2 separate regions of the Homo sapiens genome follow, and region 1 is linked to region 2. The links are contacts of gene promoters, found by promoter capture Hi-C in human tissues and cell types (Jung and others, 2019). All regions are on one chromosome and are shown on one strand. The core of a region is centred on a gene start or on the middle of the fragment in contact, and the rest is flanking DNA. Distances in the headings are between cores, read along the strand shown. Region 1 has its middle 35 kb from the start of TAB2-AS1. Region 2 holds the start of NUP43 (nucleoporin 43).

Region 1 (3,124 bases), core at 97-2,596, 520 kb before region 2:
ATGAGCACAATGACTGCTACCACAGCTTGCTGCCAGCCATTGCCTTGACTTGTCCTAAAACACAGCCATTTTCATCCGCCTCCATGGCTACTGCATCATCAGTGCAAAGTCAACCCAGTAAAAAAGGCAAATAGCATCTCCGTGTTATCATAAAAATAGTTTTGACCTCATGGCTCCCCTTAAAGGGCTTGGGGCATCACAGAGAGCCACTGCTACAGCCAACTGAGAGAGAACTCTCAAAAGCCAGGCTTTTTCTGTCCCTGTCCTTCTCACAGTGAAACACTTAACGCACTCTCTGATTGTGGCTCTTAACTCGCCAGGTAAAAGTCCTTCTGTGTAGTCTAGGAAGAAGGGCAAGGGCAAAGGGAGGACTTTGTTTATGAAGCCTAAGTAGAATATGCTCTGCTAGATAATCAGTCCTGGAATGAAGGAGGGGAGAAGTGAGTTTCTGATTGTCTGAGCCCAGGTCTGATGTTGGGAAATGCCAGCATTCCAACCCCTGATTTCCATTCCCACTACCAGACTTAGGCAAAGTTACTCACCCGTTCTTGACCACATAAATGTATGTGTGATGGCTAATTTTATGTGTCGACTTGACTGGACTAAAGGATGCCTGGATATTTCTGGAAGAGACTAAGATTTGAGTCAGTAGACTGAGTAAAAATTGCCCTCACCAATGTGAGTGATCCTTATCCAATCTGTAGACGGCCCGAATGGAACAAAAAGGTAGAGAAAGGGAGAATTCACTCTCTCTAACCCGGAACAGCCATTCAGCCATTTTCTCCTTCCCTTGGACATCAGCACTTCTGATTCTCTGGCCTCCAGATTATGACTGTGACTTACACCATCGGCCTCTCTGGATCTCAGGCCTTCCAGTTTGGACTGGAATTACACCACCAGCTTTCCTGGGCCTTCAGCTTGCAAACAGGTGATTGTGGGACTCTTCAGCCTCCATAATCACACGAGCCAATCCCTCATAATAAACCTTTCCTGGCCAGGCGTGGTGGCTCATGCCTGTAATCCCAACACTTTGGGAGGCCAAGGCAGCCAGATTACTTGAGGACAGGAGTTGGAGACCAGCCTGGCCAACATGGTGAAACCCTGTCCCTACTAAAAATATAAAAATTAGCGAGGCATGGTGGTGGGCACCTGTGGTCACAGCCACTGAAGAGGCTGAGGCAGGAGAATTGTTTGAACCTGAGAGGCGGAGGTTGCACTGAACTGAGATCATCCCACTGCACTCCAGCTTGGGCAACAGAGCGAGACTCTGTCTCAAAAAAAAAAAAAAAAGAAACTTTTTTTTCATATCTCTATATGTGCCATTGGTTCTGTTTCTCTGGAGATCCCTGGCTAATACACTATATAACAATTACTCCCTTTGAAAATCAGGAACTCACAGATGATTCAAAGTGTGACCTACACTTTTCTTGCTGATGCCTGGCCATAGGCAGCAGCGCAAGACTGTGTCTCTCTCTCAATCTCTCTCTTTCACATCTCAGGTTTCTATGCAGTTAGAAAAGCTACTTTTCTAGAATCACTTTTTCCTAAGTAATCCATATCACATCTGTTAGGAATTACTAATTAATAAGCAAAGTTAACCAAAAAAAGAGAGTATTATAAATCCATCTTTCTATTAGATTGTGATAACTGCCCCCTTCTATTCATTATTTCCTGTACCAAACTCATTTTGTAAACTAAGATCAAGTCTAATAAAAAAATTCTTTTTTGTTAAGTAGCAACAAGCATGCCACATGAAATATTGAAATATATTGAGTTTACAAAAAACAAACTCAAAAGACTATCTTATTAAATTCAAAAGGAATGTTTCTTCACAAAAAGCTTTTTGGGTAAGACAATGAGGATTCACCAGCTCTATTTTATTACAGATACCTGAGTCTGTTTTATGTTTCTGTGGTGGAATTTGGTTCTCAGAGCTTTGTGACCTGTCGATGAGGACATCTCAGTCAGTCTTTTCCAGTACCTCTTTTGTTTGTTTTAGTTTGCAGAATCTGTGCAGCTAAACAGAAATTAAAACAACTGATTTCTAAGACTCGTCCAGCTCTGACATGAAATGATTCTAAGAACCCCTGTGATTTTCCAAATTATAGCCTGTGTTCTTGCTGTCCATTGTCTTGCTATTTTGTAGAGTATGATCCAGATTCCCGGCCTGTCCTAATCTGTTGGAAAATACTTTCAATTTGAAAAGCTGGATGGATAAAAATGACAATTCTCTCAACTCCAGTCCCCATTATGCAGGTTTTCTGTGGCTTTGGGGGTTAAATGCCTGATACAGACTGATTGCCCCTACCGTTTTAGAGAGTTCTCATGTTGTTTCAGCTGCTTATGTAAAAAAATGTTAAGCTGTATTACCATTTGAGTACTTGATTTAGTGATGCTTTCAATGACTGCTTGCATTTTCTGGACATGTAATTCCATTTTTTATATACCATCCCTAGTTTAAACCTTCAAAGCCATATTTTAAAAGCATCAGCAGCTGAGGCTGAATGTAAATATTCCTTTAATCTGGCTGAGACTACACACCTCCCCCTTTAGGAAAAGAAAAAAAAAAACTGTAGAGACTGTCATAAATAACTTTACTTAAGTGAATGCTGAAATTAGGCACCACATTGCTTGGCTCCTAGTAACCTCTTTGCAGCCAGATATGTAGAGTACCCACTGGCCAAAACTTCATCTTTTCAGAAATGGAAAGCAGGGAAAAACAATGTGATCACCTTTTAAAGGGGCATGTTGGACCCAGTTCCAAAGTTCAATATGCCTGGACAGTTCTCAGTGCAGTAACTACAGCTGACCTTGGAAGAAAATGATGTTTATAGCAGCCCATGAGTCGGGAAGGGTGATAATGAACGAAATGTAATCATGTATTCCTGGCACACACTTTGAATAGTACAAGGAGCTAATTGCATTTAAGTATTATCTTACAATACAGTGACCCAATCATTTTGGAAGATAGCCAAAGCCTCCCTTTTTAGAAGAGGAGGAACTTTTTAGCAAAAATTCATTAATTTTAACCTCTGAAACTCCAAAAACTTTTTCCTGGATCAAGTCAAATGGCACGGATTTTTCCCGTAACTCTTCCTATCTGTACTGTCAAATGCTGACATGT
Region 2 (3,021 bases), core at 445-2,944:
CCAAAAAAAAAAAATGTATCTTTCCTAGAGCTAGATAGCTTTCTTTTTTATTTTATTTATTTATTTATTTATTTATTTATTATTATTATTTTTTGAGACAGAGTTTCGCTCTTGTTGCCCAAGCTGGCGCACTCTCGGCTCACTGCAACCTCTGCGCCCGGGTTCAAGCGATTCTCCTGCCTCAGACTCCAGAGTAGCTGGGATTACAAGCGCGCACCAGGGCTAGGTAGCTTTCTATGGAAAATGCAGGGGCTCTCCACACCAGGATTTGAAAACTTAATTTCGGCCGGGCGCCATGGCTCACTCCTGTAATCCCAGCACTTTGGGAGGCCGAGGCAGGCAAATCACCAGGTCAGGAAATAGAGACCATCGTGGCTAATATGGTGAAACCCCGTCTCTATTAAAAATACAAAAAATTAGCCGGGTATGGTGGCCTGCGCCTGTAGTCCCAGCTACCCGGGAGGCTGAGGCAGGAGAATCGCTTGAACCCGGGAAGCGGAGGTTGTAGTGAGCTCAGATCATGCCACTGTACTCCAGCCTGGGTGACAGAGCGAGACTCCATCTTGGAAAAAAAAAAAAAAAAGAAAACTCAATTTCATCCCCACCACTCATTACTGGTTTTGAGACTTTGGCCAAGTTAAGTTCACTAAATCGTGGTAAATCTTTAAAACGGGAGCACTAATCTCTACTTAGGGAGTTGTTATGAGAATTCAAAAAACAAAATGATGTTATCCCCCTGCACAGTATCTGTCACATAGTACATGCTCAAGATATATTAGTCTCAATTTTCTCATTAGTAAAACAAAGTAACGATACTTGATTCACTGGCATGCAACAATAATTAATTTTTGTAAAGCTCCCCAAACGGTATTTAGCACATAGTCGACAGTCAATTAATAAAAAAGTATGATTAAATCTACATCCCCTTTCCCAGTCCTTTTTCTGCCACTAAATGGCTAAATGATGTTGGGCAAATCATAACTTACAGAGCACTCAGTTTTCTGTAAACGAGGGGTGACACCAGACAACTTTTATGATGCTCTGCTTGTTTAAATGTATTACTCAGGACTTTCAAAGTTAGCTTTTGGATGCTACACAGATTTACCTGTAAATCCATTACATCACCATGGTGTCTGATATCACACAATAACTGATGGTCTCCTTCAAACCCTCCATCAGAGTCCAAGTTTCCAAAATCTCCAATAGACCACAGTGAAATATAATTTTCCTGTAAAACAGAAAGTTTTGTCTTGAGATGACATAAACGTCAACTCTCGGAAAATAAAAGTTGTGCTCCCGTCCGGAAATGTTGCTCCAAAACATCTCAAATGGTATGGTGAGTTTAAAACACAACGAGATACGAGGCTCAGGCATGCCATCACCGGCTCTGAGCTACGGAGCAACCGCGCCTGAGACAGGGGTCCGGGGGACCTAAAAGTGCGAGAAGAACCAGAAGGTGGGAGTTGGCGCGCGGAAGGCCAGGGGTCAGCTCAACCGGAGAGAGGGAGGAGGTAGGGGCTCGTCCCTATCAGCGGCGATACCTCATTGTCCCAAGATCCTGTAGCGAACGTCTCCGCGGTCTGTAAACTTCCCGGAGGCAGCGGTCGCCAGCGGGTTTTGCTGATTTTCTGGGACACAAACTTCGCATAAATTTCCTCCATGCCGAAAGCGGCCGCAGCAGGTACTGCAAAAAGCAAGCACAGTACGCGCCTCTCAGCACCGCCTCTTCCCGCGGAACCCTGATTGGATGGGACTTTAGGACGGAGACGGTGGCTGCAGAGAGTCAATTCTCGTCGATAGCCAGTGTGGGCACAGTCAGTACCTAGACTGAGAGGCCCACCCATCTCACAGAGCAGCTCTGAGCAAAGGCAAGAGCGCTTTGGCCTTTGAGCAGTAGGACTTGCTCCTAATCTGCAATGTCAGTATTTTCTTGTGTTCAATAATTGTGCAGTGTAAAATTTAAGTGCAAAAACAGAACAAAAACAATGCAGTAGAAACCACCTTGAAACCACACCTAAGCAGTTGCAGGTCACTGCGCATAGAAAACGATTCAAAAATCCTTAAATACTCGTGGAAGTACCTCGAATAAAGTGCCAACCTACTATCCCAAACCTCTCCCTCTTGTCTCCCAAACAAATACTTTGCTTCAAAGTTAATACACACTGTCAGAGCCTGGAGTTGGAATTCTGAAAGACTCCAGTTTTAGTTTTGATGCCAATTGCCTAGCTTTGATCAATTCAATTACGTGCATGATTAAGAATGAAGTTTGTGATACCTATTGTCAACGGCCCAGGAATCAGTTTTCTAGGTTCCTTCTGTGCTTTTGGTTACACCTATAATATTCTTCCCTTCCTCTTTACTCCTCAGAATCCTGCCTATCCTTCAAGGATCTGTTCTTTCCTTTACCATTTCCTGACGACCCCAGCCAATGTTGATCTAAATCAACACCATTTTTTTTCTTTTTTAAGACAGGGTCTCTGTGGCCCAAGCTGGAGTGCAGTGGTACAATCTCAGCTCACTGCAACCTCTGCCTCCGCCTCCCAGGTTCAAGTGATTCTCCCACCTCAGCTTCCAGGGTAGCTGGGACTACAGGTGTGCGCCACCATGCCTGGCTAATTTTTTTTTTTTTTTTTTGGAGAGACGGGATTTCACCATATTGGCCAGGCTGGTCTCGAACTCTTGACCTCAGGTGATCCAACTGCCTTGTCCTCCCAAAGTGCTGGGATTACAGGCGTGAGCTAGCATTTGATATCTAGACCACTAATGACATATATTTTGGATATATCTTATGTTAGTTTTCTTTAGATGCATATTCCTCCCCCATTAGAATGTAAATCCTACTGAATACAAGAGATATGACTTATTCAACTAAAAAATGAAGCTCTTTTACACTATAGGTATTCATAACTGTATGTTGGTTATTTCTTTAAAAAGGGCCATTATGCTACTGTTGTTTTTATGTGATATTGGTAGTCCTACTTCACAGGGACAGTTTACGGAAGCACTGCATGTAAATGCAAT

Evidence for each region. Contacts are between HindIII fragments. The study calls those that stand out against the background at their distance.
Region 1: a fragment that was not itself captured here is called in contact with the fragment with the promoter of NUP43 in region 2 in 1 of the 25 tissues and cell types used here (aorta).

What each region holds. Positions count from the first base shown.
Region 1 is chr6:149,221,344-149,224,467 of GRCh38, forward strand. It overlaps a transcript of TAB2 not described here. Among named protein-coding and RNA genes, the nearest start is that of TAB2-AS1, 35 kb to the right of the region's middle. The HindIII fragment of the contact is 6,138 bases long and covers 1-3,124 here.
Region 2 is chr6:149,744,835-149,747,855 of GRCh38, forward strand. It overlaps NUP43 (nucleoporin 43), which reads right to left and starts at 1,695. Exons shown (of 8, transcript NM_198887.3): 1 at 1,542-1,695; 2 at 1,106-1,228. The coding sequence starts at 1,661. RefSeq lists an enhancer at 2,005-2,064. The HindIII fragment of the contact is 10,037 bases long and covers 1-3,021 here.